5 separate regions of the Homo sapiens genome follow, and all the other regions are linked to region 1. Evidence: promoter capture Hi-C in 16 types of primary human blood cells and fetal thymus (Javierre and others, 2016). All regions are on one chromosome and are shown on one strand. The core of a region is centred on a gene start or on the middle of the fragment in contact, and the rest is flanking DNA. Distances in the headings are between cores, read along the strand shown. Region 1 holds the start of TEX35 (testis expressed 35). Region 2 has its middle 44 kb from the start of FAM20B. Region 3 has its middle 62 kb from the start of FAM20B. Region 4 has its middle 62 kb from the start of ANGPTL1. Region 5 holds the start of ANGPTL1 (angiopoietin like 1).

Evidence for each region. The method cuts DNA at HindIII sites, captures the fragments that hold promoters and counts their contacts. A CHiCAGO score of 5 or more calls a contact.
Region 2: a fragment that was not itself captured here is called in contact with the fragment with the promoter of TEX35 in region 1 in 2 of 17 cell types (total B cells and naive B cells); the score reaches 8.7 in total B cells.
Region 3: a fragment that was not itself captured here is called in contact with the fragment with the promoter of TEX35 in region 1 in 2 of 17 cell types (total B cells and naive B cells); the score reaches 9.2 in total B cells.
Region 4: a fragment that was not itself captured here is called in contact with the fragment with the promoter of TEX35 in region 1 in 1 of 17 cell types (naive B cells); the score reaches 7.5 in naive B cells.
Region 5: a contact is called between the fragment with the promoter of ANGPTL1 here and the fragment with the promoter of TEX35 in region 1, in 2 of 17 cell types (naive B cells and total B cells). The highest score is 8.6, in naive B cells.

What each region holds. Positions count from the first base shown.
Region 1 is chr1:178,511,719-178,514,626 of GRCh38, forward strand. It overlaps TEX35 (testis expressed 35), which reads left to right and starts at 1,391. Exons shown (of 9, transcript NM_032126.5): 1 at 1,391-1,509; 2 at 2,309-2,359. The coding sequence starts at 1,471. It overlaps LOC101928866 (a long non-coding RNA gene), which reads right to left and starts at 1,332. Exons shown (of 6, transcript XR_001738307.2): 1 at 924-1,332; 2 at 358-564. The HindIII fragment of the contact is 3,272 bases long and covers 761-2,908 here.
Region 2 is chr1:178,980,045-178,982,952 of GRCh38, forward strand. No RefSeq gene overlaps it. Among named protein-coding and RNA genes, the nearest start is that of FAM20B, 44 kb to the right of the region's middle. The HindIII fragment of the contact is 4,309 bases long and covers 1-2,908 here.
Region 3 is chr1:178,962,760-178,965,667 of GRCh38, forward strand. No RefSeq gene overlaps it. Among named protein-coding and RNA genes, the nearest start is that of FAM20B, 62 kb to the right of the region's middle. The HindIII fragment of the contact is 1,418 bases long and covers 755-2,172 here.
Region 4 is chr1:178,931,647-178,934,554 of GRCh38, forward strand. No RefSeq gene overlaps it. Among named protein-coding and RNA genes, the nearest start is that of ANGPTL1, 62 kb to the left of the region's middle. The HindIII fragment of the contact is 283 bases long and covers 1,327-1,609 here.
Region 5 is chr1:178,869,542-178,872,449 of GRCh38, forward strand. It overlaps ANGPTL1 (angiopoietin like 1), which reads right to left and starts at 1,536. Exons shown (of 6, transcript NM_004673.4): 1 at 1,200-1,536. The region is part of intron 8 of RALGPS2 (Ral GEF with PH domain and SH3 binding motif 2); the gene reads left to right. The HindIII fragment of the contact is 10,209 bases long and covers 1-2,908 here.

The sequences.
Region 1 (2,908 bases), core at 141-2,640:
AAGCTCTACTGCAGGTCCAGGAGGCCCCCAAGCCAAAATTAGCAGAAGGAGGTGGGGCACATTTTCACGGGGCTGGTGGATGTTGAGATGGAGTCAGTCATTTTCACTGTAATTCCCTTAGAGGAAGGGCATTCCTACCACGAGGCCATCAGATCTGAGAGGGCTGAATTAAAAGGTCCAAGGAAACTGAAAAGTTCCAGCCCCTCATTTATAAGTGGGGAAAGTGAAGCCTGGGAAGCTGGTGACCACCCCCAACTCCCTCTCCTTCCGCTGATGCAGTGGCAGACACATTCTCCTCTGGCTATGGTGGAGTAAGACCCACAGCTGTCACCAGTGTCAGGGCTGGGAAATCACCACCTAGGAAATGCATCAGAAGTGCTGCAGGTGGCTCCAGAAGTTCCAGTGGCCTCCAGGAAGGATAGTCCCAAGCAGGTGTGTGAAATGGGAGGGTAAGTGTGGTCAGTAGTGGCCTGCATGGGGATGTCATTCACATGCAATTTGCATTAGTTCCTGTACTCCTGTGCTGTCTGTCCTCAGATGTCCATGTTGGCCTTTTCTGTGCAACTAGCAGTTGAAATGAGAGGGAAGAAGGAAGTGAATGACCAGTGATAAGAGGAAAAGAGAAATCAATTTCACCAACCCAGATCCCCAGTGATTTTTTATCCCATGGGGTGCCATGTTCCTCTGACTGTCTACTTTAGCACAAACTATGGCTACCCGCAGAATGGCCTTTTCTTTAGTATTCTTCATTTGCCCGAAAAGCTTCTTATCTTTAGCTTCTTGTCCCAACCCTCTTCCCGGATGATAGAAGAACTAGGAAAAGAGAATTTTTAGGTGGGCAGGGGTCTGGGGGTGGTTGTGGGACAGGGGCAGTGTGAGGTCAGAGGCATCAGAAACCATCCTGCTGAGACTGGCTACCCCACCTCATACAGAGTAACCCAGGTTAAGTGAGACGGTGCATGCACGTTGAACCAGAGAGACTTCATGGCATCCTCCAGCCCAAGGTGGCTTCCGGTCCGAGGTGGGGTCGGTTCGCGCGAGGAGCGCACAGCAGAGGACATGGGCTGTGCGCTCAGAGGAGGAGCTGGCTGTCCCTGGAGGACGTCCTTCTGAGTCAGTAGGTGAGTCCTGCTGCAGAAGGAGCCACTGCTTCTGACGCGTGCCTTGCACTTCGACCGTAGCAGGCCATGATCCTCCTCAGTGTGGACTTTCCTTCTGTTGCAAGAGGGAGGCCTGGTGGGACTCTGAAACCTGGCCTGAACCCCTCATCTCAGTGGCCGAAGCCCCCCAGGCCTGAAGCTGTGGTGACGCTCTGGACCACCATGTGGGTCCTGGCATTGTGACCTCAGCTGTTCCGTACACAAAGGGGTGGTCACCCTGCCCTCACCTTGACCTGTAAGTTGCCTAGGACAGTGGCCTGGTCCCAGGGGCTGTTGTGGGGAGTTGAAGAACACCCTGGCCTCCTCCATCATGTCGGCCAAGAGGGCAGAATTGAAGAAAACACATCTGGTAAAAGAGAGACATTGCTGGACAGTGTGGGTCCTCTCTGAGCTCCTACTGAATGGAGATGGTGTCGGGGCAAGGGATACAGAGAATGCTCGCATGAATCTCTGGTTTTTCTTTCTCTGTACTGAGCATAAAGCAGCCTCTCAGTCTGGAAGGGGTGTGGGATTAATCCCTAGCCTTGGGGGTGGGAAGGAAAGAGGCCTCTGCTGCCTCCCTCTGGGGATGAGGAGCACTGCCAAGGGAGCACTCCCTACTCCAAGACCACTCATGGTTCCACGGCCCATGCCAGGCCTGCCAGGCCCACATCTAACCAGCAGGGCTAAGGCTCAGAATAACCTTATTAGATAAATATAATCATCACGTCGATTTTATAGATGAGGAAATGGGGGCTCAGAGAGGCTAAGCAACTCACCCAAAATAACAGAGATAGTAGAGAGGTCAGCTGAGACTATAGTGCAAATCTGCCTATGGCCAAAGCCCTTGCTCTGGAAACAACACTTCCGGGGCTTGCTTCTAGTTATCTTAAAGTGCTTTCTCCACGCTGGCGCCTCCAGCAGGGAGAGGGCTGCCTGCCAAATAGGCAGACACACGCCCATAGGAAGAGGACAGCACGACAAGATGTGATTTGTTAGGAATCGGATCCGGGTGCTGCGGGGTCTGTGAGCCTGAGCTCAAGCCAGTTGGACAGGCAGGGTTGCATGGTTGTGGGGGGCAGGGGGCAGGGTTCCCGTGCAAGGGCCAGATGTTCTCCTCCCCAATCCTGATGTCTGCCAGCCTGAATCTCAGTCTCCTCTTTTTGCAGAGCAAGAACTACAAGGCAGTTTGCCTGGAATTGAAGCCAGAGCCGACCAAAGTAAGAAGCCCTTTTGAGGCCATGCAGGCAGCCAGGCCTGAGATCCATGGGGAAGTGACCAGGAGTCAGGGGTCATTTGCTGATCCTAGTGGCCAAGATTTGTCCCAGGTGCTGGGGGATGCACTGAGAGTTCTTGCTCTCATAGAACTTCACACTGTAACCAATCAGATACATAAACGAACAAGGACTCATTCAGCAGTGTTACCTGCTCTGCTGGGAATCAAGACAGGGAGACATGTCTGAGTGGCTGCCGTGGAGTGGGTGGTAGGGAAAGGCCTTCCTTTGAGCTGAGAGCTGAAGGACAAGACTCTGGCTTTGCAAAGGCAGAGTAAGAGCCTTCTAGGCAGAGGAGGCAGCATGCACTGAGGCCCAAGGTGGGAATGAGCCTGGCTGTTCAAGGGACAAAAGGAGCTGAGGCCCCGTGGGCCAGCAGGGGAGTGGAACAAGATGAGCTGAAAGAGGGAGGAGGATAGAGGAACCTTCTGCACAGGTGGGGCCACCAGCTTTCCTCTTGCCTTAGCCCTAAGGGAGGAACAGAAACACAGGGGG
Region 2 (2,908 bases), core at 233-2,732, 470 kb after region 1:
CCAAAAAAGTAGAAAACTTTCAAATAACGAACCTAATGATGCACCTCGAGGAACTAGAAAAGCAAGAATAAACCAACCCCAAAGTTAGTAGAAGAAAGGAAATAATAAAAATCAGAACAGAACTAAATGAAATAGACACTAAAAAATTACAAAGAATCAAAAAACCAAAAAGTTGGTTATTTGAAAATATAAACAAAATCAATAAATTACTAGCTAAACTAACCAAGAAAAAAAGAAGTCCCAAATAAATAAAATTAGAAATGATAAAGGAGACATTACAACTGATATCACAGAAATACAAACGATCGGCCAGGTGCTGTGGCTCATGCCTGTAATCCCAGCACTTTGGGAGGCCGAGGCAGGTGGCTCACTTGAGGTCAGGAGTTTGTGACCAGCCCAGCCAACATGGTGAATCCCTGTCTCTACTAAAAATACAACAAATTGGCTGAGTGTGGTGGCAGGCGCCTGTAATCCCAGCTACTTGGGAGGCTGAGGCATGAGAATCACTTGAACCCAGGAGGGAGAAGTTGCAGTGAGTCAAGATCCTACCACTGCACTCTAGTCTAGGTGACAGAGCAAAACTCTGTCTCAAAAAGAAAAAGAAAAAAGTACAAAAGATCTTTAGAGACTATTATGAAAAATTATATGCTAACAAATTAGAAAACCTAGAGGACATGGATAAATTCCTAGACACATATAACCTACCAAAATTGAACCAGGAAGAAATAGACCTGAAAAGACCAATAACAAGTAATGAGATTGAATCAGTAATAAAAAGTTTCCCAGCAAAAAAACCCAGGACCAGATAGCTTTATTGCAAAATTCTACCAATTTTTATTAAATTTTTTTAGAAACATGATCTCACTCTGTCACTCAGTCTGGAGTACAGTCGTGTGATCATAGCTCACTGCAGCCTCAAACTCAGGCTCAAGTGATTCTCCCACATCAGCCTCCTGAGTCACTAGGACTATAGGTGCATACCATAATGCCCAGCTAATTATTTTTTTGTAGACACAGGGTCTTGTTATGTTGCCCAGGCTGGTCTCCAGCTCCTGGCCTCAAGCAACCCTCCCACCTCAACCTCCCAAAATGCTGGGACTACAGATCTGAGCCACTGCACTCAGCCTACAAATCATTTGAAAAAGATTTAACACCAATTCTTCTCAAGTTATTCCAAAAAGTGAAGAGGAGGGAATTCTTCCTAACTCATGCTATGAGACCAGCATTGCCCTGATACCAAAACCAGACAAGACTACAACAACAAAAGAAAACTTCAGGCCACCATTCTTTATGAACATAAATTCAAACTTTTTAACAAATTACTGCCAAATCAAGTTCAACAGCACATCAAAAAGATAATACACATGATGAAGTGGGATTTATCCCAAGGATGCAAGGATGTTTCAACATACACAAAGCAATAAATGTGATGTATCACATTAACAGAATGAAGGATAAAAACCATATAATCATCTCAATAGACACAGAAATAGCATGTAATAAAATTTAACATTCCTTCATGATAAAATTCTCAACAGATTAGGCACAGAAGGAACACACTTCAACATAATAAAGGTTATATATGACAAACCCACAACTAACATCATACTAAATAGGGAAAGGTTGAAACCCCTTCCTCTAAAAACTGGAACAAGACAAGGATGTCCATTTTCACCATCCCTATTTAACATAGTATTGGGAGTCTTAGCCAGAGCAACTAGGAAGAAAAAGAAAGGACATCCAAATTTGGAAAGAGAAAATCAAATTGTCCCTTATTGCAGATGACATAACCTTATATATAGAAAAGCCTAGACTCCACCAAAAACTGTTACGACTAATAAACAAATTCAGTAAAGTTGCAGGATACAAAATAAACATATAAAAATCAGTAGTGTTTCTATACAGCAATAATAAATGAACTGAAAAAGCAAGAAATGAACCCCATTTACAATAGCTAAAAAAAAAAAAGGAATAAACTTAACCAAGGATGCAAAAGACCTTCACAATGAAAACTAGAGAACACTGATAAAAGAAACTGAAGAAGACACAAACAAATGAAAATACATCCCATGCTCATGGATTGGAAAAATTAATATTATCAAAATGACTAAAGCAATTTACAGGTTCAATGTAATCTCTATCAACATACCAGACATTCTTCATGGGAATAGAAAAACAATCCTAAAATACATATGGAACCACAAAAGACCTCAAATAGCTAAAGCAATATATATAGAAAAAAAAATAGCAGGAGGCATCATACTACCTGACTTCAAAATACACGACAAAGCTATAGAGGTATAGTAACCAAAACAGCATAGTATTGGTATAAAAACAGACACATAGAACAATGGAACAGAATAGAGAATCCAGAAATCCACATATTTAAAGCCAACTAATTTTTGACAAAGGCACCAAGAACATACATTGGGAAAAGGACACCTTCTTCAATAAATGGTGCTGGGAAATATTGAAGAAGGACACCTTCTTCAAAAAACGGTGCTGGGAACTATATGCAGAAGAATGAAACTAGACCCTTATTCTCACCATATACAAAAATCAACCCAAAATGGATTAAAGACTGAAAAGTAAGACCCAAAACTATAAAAACGCTAGAAGAAAACATAAGGAAAATGTGCTTCAGCCCATTGGTCTAAGCAAAGATTTTATGTCTAAGGCTTCAAAAGCACAGCTAAAGAAAATAGATAAATGAGACTATATTAAACTAAAAACCTTCTCCCCAGCAAAGGAAACAATCAAGAGAGTGAAGAGACAACCTACAGAATGGGAGAAAATATGTGCAAGCTACTCATTTCGCAAGGGATAACATCTAGAATATACCAGGAACTCAACACTAAAAAAAAAAAAAAACCACTAAAAAGTGGAGAAAGAATCTAGAATTATAGAC
Region 3 (2,908 bases), core at 214-2,713, 450 kb after region 1:
CCAAACAGACTCCTGCCCTCATAGAGCTTACCTTCTAGTGAAGGGAGAAAGACAATAAAGGTAATAAGTTGAAGGCTGCAATTTTATTTTATTTTATTTTATTTTATTTATTTATTTTTGAGGCAGAGTCTCATTCTGTCGCGAGGCCCAGGCTGGAGTGTAATAGCATGATCTTGGCTCACTGCAACCTCCCCTCCTGGGTTCTGGCAATTCTTGTGCCTCAGCCTCCTGAGTAGCTGGGATTACAGGCATGCATCACCACAACCAGCTAATTTTTATATTTTTAGTACAGACAGGGTTTCACCACGCTGGCCAGGCTGGTCTCGAATCACTGACCTCAAGTGATCTTCCCGCCTAGGCCTCCCAAAGTGCTGGGATTATAGCCATGAGCCACCACACCCACCCTAGGCTACAGTTTTAAATAGGATGGTCAGGGTGGGCCCCATTGAGAAGGTGAAATTTGAGCAAAGACTTGAAGGAAGTGAAAGGGTGAGCCACACCAATATCTGGAGGAAGAGTGTTCTAGATGCAGGGGACAGCCTGTGCAAAGCCCAAAGCCTGGCGTATTCCACGAGCGGTGGGGAGGGAGGGAGGAAAGGCAAGCATTTGAGAGTGAGAGAGAGGCCAGGCCCAGCAGGACTTCATAGCTGAGGACGTGGGCTTCTACCCTGATGTGCTGAAGGGCCACTGGAGAGTTCTGACTTAAGGTTTAAAGGGATAACTGGCTGCTGTGTGGAGAACAGACTGCAGGGGAAGCTTGGAAACCAGTTAGGAGAGAAATGCTCGTTCAGCCATTCTCTGTGGAAAGAACACACATGACCCAATTCTCTTTGGCAGGTTTGTTTGTTAACCCTGAAATGGCTGGCACTTGGTCAGCCTTGCTGGCCTCTCCATGCCAGGCTGTCTGTAGGCACAGTCTTGGGCAAATGTGCTCTGGCTGTGGGGTCAGGATGTATTCTGTGCTACTCATGGGTGAGGGGTGGCTAGGGGGATGTTGCAGGGTAAGGACATTGTTAGTTTAAAGCCTTTTGAAAAGAAATGTTTCTTACTGCTTTTTTTTTTTTTTTTTTTTTTGAGACGGAGTCTCGCTCTGTCGCCCAGGCTGGAGTGCAGTGGCACAATCTCGGCTCACTGGAAGCTCTGCCTCCCGGGTTCACACCATTCTCCTGCCTCAGCCTCCCAAGTAGCTGGGACTACAGGCGCCCACCACCACGCCCAGCTAATTTTTTGTATTTTTAGTAAAGACAGGGTTTCATCGTGTTAGCCAGTATGGTCTCGATCTCCTGACCTTGTGATCCGCCCGTCTTGGCCTCCCAAAGTGCTGGGATTACAGGCGTTAGCCACCACGCCCAGCCTCTTACTCCTCTTATTTTCTGCCTGGATTTAAATCAGACACCTCCCCTAGCAAAAACAAAAAACTCCACTTTCTCCTGGAAACCCTATTCCCTGTCCTCAGCAACAGAAGCCCAAGACCTATTGAGTCACATGGCAATGTCATAACCTGCATCTTATTTAGGATGAGAAAGAATCCCTGCGCAGAGAGGGTGGCCTGTGTCCACTGGCCCTCAATGAATATGTATTTATTGCTTCTTCCTAAGGGGAGTGTGAAGGGAGGAGAAGGACGTGGGCTAGAAGCCTGGCTCAGTGTCTAGTCCTGGTTCTGCCACTCATAATAACTGGCCTGGCTTTTGTAGAACACTTTCAAATGCAGGATCTCACTCGAGGCTCACAATAGCACTCTGAAAGAGGTGATGCTGTTATCCTCATCTCAAGAAGCTAGGTGACGTGACACCTGGTAAGTGAGGGAGGCGAGATTTAAACCAGGTTTCCTGCCTCTAAAGCCTAGGATTGTTTCACCACATCACACAGCCACTAGGAGCACCCCCACCCCGCAACATAACCTGAGTTACTCCTCCCAGTGAGCCCCTCCCCTGTGAATCTGGGCTGGCCCTGTGACCAGTTTTTGACCAAAAGAACTTAGTGGAAATGATATAATGTAACTTCTGAGACTGGGCCTTAAGAGATTCACAGCTTCTTATAAGTCTTTGTCAGTTGAAATGTTCCCTCTTGAAAACATGCTGTGAGGTAAGAAATGTAACCATCCCATGACCATCAATCTGAGAGGAAGTTCAAGCCACATGGAGGGGGAGAGGCTACCTGCTGGAGCACCGAAGCTTCAGCCATGCAAATGAAGCCTTCTAGGCCAGCCAAGCCACCAGCCAAATACAGCCAAGTAAATGGCCCCAGCCAATAACGTGGAGAAGAAGAGCCACCCAGCTGAGCCCTGCCTGAATCCCTGACCCACAGAATCATGAGAAAATAAAATGATTATTGCTTTAAGCCACTAAATGTTGGGGTGGCTTGTTACGCAACAATATAAATGATCACAACCCCTTCATATGGGAAGAGATGAGCAATAGTCAACTTAATTCCTTCCTTCCCCCTCTCTCCCCTTCTTCCTTCTCTCCTTCCTTCTTTCCCTCCACAAATGTTTGTTAAGCACCTACAACATGCCAGGCGCTGTGCTAGATGCTGATACAAAAATGAACAAGGCAGTCACTGCCCTTCAGGAGCCTAATATCTAGTAGGAGAGGCCCTGTGTACACACACGTATACAACAAACAGGATCATGAGAAATACAAAGCACTCAGGGGTACTCAGTTTCACCGAACACAGGTCAGTAGAGGCTTCGCGAAGAAGATGCTACTTGTTGTGTGGCAGGCACTGTGCTGAGAGTCAGTTATCTGAACTGTGAGCTCTCCTTCACTCCACCCTCAGCTCAGCAGTGCAAGCTACACTTCCATAAACATGCCTTCTGTATCATCACATGAGTTATTCAGATATTGAATGTGATAAGGCCAGGCCAGATCTACCTAGTACACATCAATTTAAGGATGCCCTGATCCCT
Region 4 (2,908 bases), core at 218-2,717, 420 kb after region 1:
GGGGAAAAACATCAGCCACCTTTAAGAATTTTACATGTGCTGGTAAGAAATAATATAGCTTAAAAAATAGATTTCTGCTTGTGTAGCCCAATTTATTAATTTTTAAAACTATGATCAGATGGTATTGATTAGTGGTCTCAAAATAAGGGAGAGAAACACCTATTTCTTGTGTTATTTTTTATTAAAGCAGGGAACAAATGGGACCTTCACAGTCCTTAAAGATGAAATACCCCCAAACCAAACCAGAGTTCACTGGCAAAGCAAAGCAGTGTCCTTACATCTCGGAGGGCCCTGACCCGCCTCTGTCCCGAACCCCACCAGCAGCGGCTCTGCTAGAAAGGGAACATTTTGTTCCTTTATTGTGGTAAACCAGACCCAGGGCCCCGCTGGTTCTCAAGTCAGCTGTGAAGCTGACACACTGCCTCTCAGGGTCAGTTTGGCCCCCACAGCAGGCCCTGGGGAAGCAGCCACGCCCTCAGCTCCCTTGGGGCCCTGTCTTCCATTCCTTAACAGGACCAGCTTCTTCAGAGACTCTGGACTCTCATAAACGTTGAAGCCAGATTGTTTCCCTCTTTGCTTTTGTTTTGATGTATTTTTAAATAATTAGGCTTTTACTCTCAAGTATTTTCATTCTCCATCACTGGCTGAGGGGCAGCTCTCACACCACACTAGGGCAAGGCATGCTACTATGGTATCCAGTAAACAGTTGCCAAACAAAGTCAAAAGTTCTCTTTGGCCAAAGCCAAAATCAAGTTCTCTTTTGTACTTGTTGTTCTTCCATCTGCCCTGAGCTATGTCATAGCTGTCAAAATATGTCACCCCCTGCACCTCCGTGCAGGGTTTAAGAAAAGCAGCTCCTTGGACTTTTGCCAGCGACTTTCTTGCAACATCTTAATTATCCATTTTTTGCTTAGCAAGTAAGTCTAGAAAGAACTGCTTCTTTTATTCTTGGAAAGTAAGTACTTGGGAATGTTCAATGAAAACCAGTATGTGCTGAACTCCTGCTCTGTGCTAGGTTCTGGGGAAGGGGAGGCAGTCCCTGACCAAGGGGATCTCACAGTCAGTGAGGAGAGTGTCCCCTGAGGTCGCTGGGAAGAAGCAACACATTTCCCTGTCCAGTGGCAACTACCTCCTCATCACCTAATCCCTGCGCCCGGAGCACAAACTCATCCTAAGCAAAGGCAACTGAGCAGCTGTTTTCCTGTTCACCCCACCTCAGGTCCTCACTACTTTCCTACCGATACCATTCTAAGTTCCCAACGCATTTTGTGAAAGTAAGTCAGTTTGATTCATCATATAGTCATTGGTTCTGATGTTGTGGTTCTAAGCTTATTTTATACATTGTTATCTAATTTATTCTTTCTTAACAACCCTGTATAGTAGAGATACTTCTTCTTGAATTACAACCAGAAAATTTGGAGAGGTTGAAGAACTTGCCTACAGTCACCCAGTAAGGAGGTGGAGCCAGGATTCAAACTCTGGTCTGATTCTCGGCCCTGGTGGACACTGGCTTTCAGAGCTGTAACTTGCAGTTTTGGTGCCCAGAACCTGCAGCACAAAAGCTCCGCAAATGACTTTGTGATTTATTATGAAACTCAAAGAAAGAACAAGCTTCCTACTTTAATTTTCCTTGCTAATGACAGTTTTCAGCTGAAGAAATCCATGTGCTGTCAACATGTAAATATAACCTTTTTTTTTTTCCAATGTCTGTTCCCGGGACAGAGCCTCCCAGTAGGCCTTGCACTGTGCTGCATGTGGTCCCTGGAGTTTTACAGCCTCACTACAGACACAAAACAGAGTGGTTAACACAAGCAATCCTGAATTGCATAAATGTGCTGGATGCCCATGCTAGACTAAGAAAGTTCTTCGTATTCAGGAGAAACACTGTGGCCCTGAGAGGCCAGGGAAGGCCACGTGGAAGAGGAGAGTCCATGGGTGGGTAGGATTTAGGACCAGGGGAGAAGAATTGCAAGCAAGAGCTGGAAATATACAGTTGAGGCTGGGAAGAGCTCACACTGAGAAGTGGCAACACATAAAGTTGGAAAAGTAGGTTGGAGCCAAATTGCTCAGGATTTTAAGTGCCAGAAGGAGGAATTGGAGAATGGAAGCTGGGAGACCAGGCAGGAAACAGCTGTTCTCCAGGAGAGAGAGAGCAAGGGTCTGTCCCAAAGTGGGAGCACAGGTAGGAAACAATTGAGAGGCATTTTGAAGGATGAAGGCTCCTCTGTCTCCTGTGCCCAGGAGCCCTGCCCTCTGCTAGGCTCTGGGACTAGTAATGCTGATTAACTGATCTGCCAGTGGATGCATTGGCCCTCCCTGATGACCCGGCACCCTTCTTGGAGAAGAGTGGGACTCTGGCCCCCTATCCCTCCATGTTCAATTGCCCACATCACTCAACTCTTCCTGTCCACCACACTTACCCTCCCAAGTGTATTTCCTCATCTGCAAAAACAGCATGAGAAAGCTCCTCCTTCCTAAGTTTATTGTGAGGTTGAATAAGGTCATGCGTGGAAGATGCAAAGCACAGGGCCTGGCGCTTGTAACCGCTCAGCAGATGGGAACCGCCAGCATAAATATTCTGCACCCTTGGTCAGCTGGGACCCATTATTGAGAGTGGCTATTCTCGTCTCTCTCTATGAAATGTTAGACACTAGCAGACAGCTGAAGGTGAAATCAAGCAAGTTTGAACTGTGGTCTCTCTCTGGGGCTCCTTGTCAGGTAAGTTGGACATAAGCAACTTCCTAACAAAAGAGCCAGAAGTTGTTTCATTCTGACAGTGAAGCATGACTTCATAGTTTCTTATTCTATAAGTTGTACAGACAGACTTTTCTTCCTTTTTGTGTTTATGCCATGATGTCTTGGAGCCAAGCTATAGCAGAGCCCCTGGATAGGAATTTAGGATGCTTTT
Region 5 (2,908 bases), core at 286-2,785, 360 kb after region 1:
CATAGCATGCAACAACAAAAAAGAGAGATGACAGTATTTCAGATCCACTGTTGCTTGGAAATTTTGTTAGAATTTCTTGTAAAATATGTGTTTAACAGAAATCCTGCCAGCATTTACAGTTTTAAATCTTTAAGGAAAGGACACAAAAGCAAAGTTGGAAAAAATTTTAGCTTTACCATTATTTGCTTGTTCAAGATTCTTAACCATTAATATCTTTAATTTTTACAAGGCTAAAGGAGCCCCAAATCTAACAAACTTAAGTGTCTTTGGTTTAAGGCATACTATTGGTAACGAGTAATTTTATCTTTAATAGTTTTTATAATGCATGTAAAAAAAGCTCCCAGATAGAATATTGAAGGAAACCTCTTATGTGTGCTTAACAAAATTATTTCTACCTAAAATATTACATATTTTTGGCCTTTTAGTCATGAATTTAATTACATCTTCTGGGTTCTTATTTTCTATTGTTAATACCACTTACATAATGCTTTTGTGTGTATATCAATAACTTAGCTTTTCCAAGTGATTCCATTTGTAGCAAGTTTAATTTCTGTCATCCAAATTAAATTACTATTACATGTAAGCCTGGAAAGCTATTTAAAATTTTGAGTTGGAACAAGAAATGCCATAGATTAATCTTAAATCTGTACAAGAATTTCTGCTTAATATTTGGTTATACTGTAATTGAGATTTTGTTGCAAAGACTTTCAACTATTTTTGTATCTTAGCTTTGTTTTATGACTACACTGAGAAATCCAACAGTTTATGTATATCTTCAGCACACACACTGTGGCTGCAGGAAGAGAAACTAATTGTGTTCACGACTATTTAGTTTGTATTCCTTTGTTTTTAATCATTGTGCTGTAAGCCTTATACATTTAATCTGTTACTTGTTAAAATTTCTTTCTACTGTCACTAAAGCACTTGTTTTCAGAAACCCAGCATGGCATGCATGTATCAGTCTGTAATCATATACACTAAACATCATTAAATTGAACCTCAAATAATGCATTAACCATTGCACAGTACTTAATGTTTTTATGTCAAGTTGCAAGATAAAACCTTTTTCAGATGAGATAAACTGTAGTATATTCCAAAGGTCTTTGTTTAGTAAAAGATTCTGAAATTTCTACTACAAATATAAAATAGTTATGCATTTGCTATACATAATATTTTTAAATAAAAGAAATATTAAATACCTTTTTGTGTCTGTTGATTCAGTGAATCCAGAAACTTGCTGCCCTTATTCTTGATTTTAAAAATCAGTGTAGAAGTTTGTTCATCTGTGACTTTAATGGCAGCTGCATTTTTGTTTTGGACCGTTGAATCCAAGCTGTAAGAAGGAACTTCTTTTTCCTTTTACAATACTAATCAATTGAATTTGACAAGCCACCTATGTAATTTTAAGTAGTATAGTGGAAGTTCTGGTCTGTGGGCCGTCTTTAATCCAGCAGAGAAAGCGTTGTGGCTTTGCTCTGTCTGCCACATGGAGAAATGCAGTAACCAGCTGCAGCTGACCCAGATTGTATATACAGTACCCCTGAATAGTGATTCCCTCTTTCTCAGTAGACTCAAGTTCAGCCCACATATTACATCACCAAAAATTGCTGGAGACTGGGGGCGGGAATCTCCTTAGGATTTCCTCTTTGTAGCCTTAAATAGGGGGGTGGGATCAGCAGGAGGTTGAATAGTTTTGAACAAGGAGAGATTGTGTGCAGGTTGAAGGAAGGGCACCATCTGGAAACAAACTATCATAGTTCAGCGGGCAATTATAAAACAAACATTTTAGTCTGCTGGCCAGAGATCTTTTAAGTTGAATACCGAAAAAAAAAATAGTGCTCCACTTCACTTAGAAGTAGTTGCAGGCTGATGAGTTTGGTTTTTGTTAACAAAGAACAAGAGCTAGACTTTGTCAGGAGGCAGCCACCTAAATAATGTAATAAATACTCTTTATAGCCTAGAAGAATTTGTAAACATTTTACTAAGTTGCTAATGAAGGTTTTAAACTTACAAGAAACTTGATGTTGTTGTAGTATGTTATGTCTTACTGTGTAATGTGTCTTAAGATAAAACAGCCTTTATATATAATTACCAAACATAAGTGAAATTCTTTCAGATGCTTAAGACTTTTAAATATTACATTCTGGTGTTACATAATGTCATATCCTCCTATTCTACAAAATGACCTCTCCTCTCTGTAAAAGGTCATTCTTGTTATTAATTGATGTGGTGTGGTTTAAAAACAAACATAACCCTGAACTGAGTAAAAAACAAGGAAGCTCTGACTCTATGCCAGCTATGTGAACTTAGACAAATCACTTTACCTGCCTCTGGCAAGGTTCTTCTGCTATGAAATAAGGTGGTGGAAGAAATGAATAAGTGTTGAGTACAACTATACTATTGTATTTCATTAATTGAAGAAATGTTAAATAACTCAGTAGCTGAAGAAACACAAACTTAGGCTTAAGTAACTTAGCTTAGCACTTAAGTACTAAGTAGTGGAACTGGGATTTGAATCTAATGCCAAAGCATTATGCCACACTCTCTGTCATTGATTACCTAGTTGCTGTAAGCTGCTTCTAGATAAAACTTTTGGGCTTTCTCTACATACCTGTGCTTTCCCTTCCTTATTGCTGTAGCTTGTGCTGTGTTTCTCTTTCTGTTAGGCCACACTGTTGATCCACATCCTTTATTTAAAGTCTGAGCTTATTTTCTACCTCTTTCACAGAATCATTTATTTGAATTCCTATGCCATATATAGGTATACCAGAGGTTGCAAACACAAGGGCCTAGAAAGGCAAATGCTCACAAGAAGAATGGAGCAGGTAATATAAATCAGTGAAGTAAATCAGTAGTAAGATACTGGAGGGAAATGAAGTTTATGGCAAGTTGGCATCCTTTTGGTTAA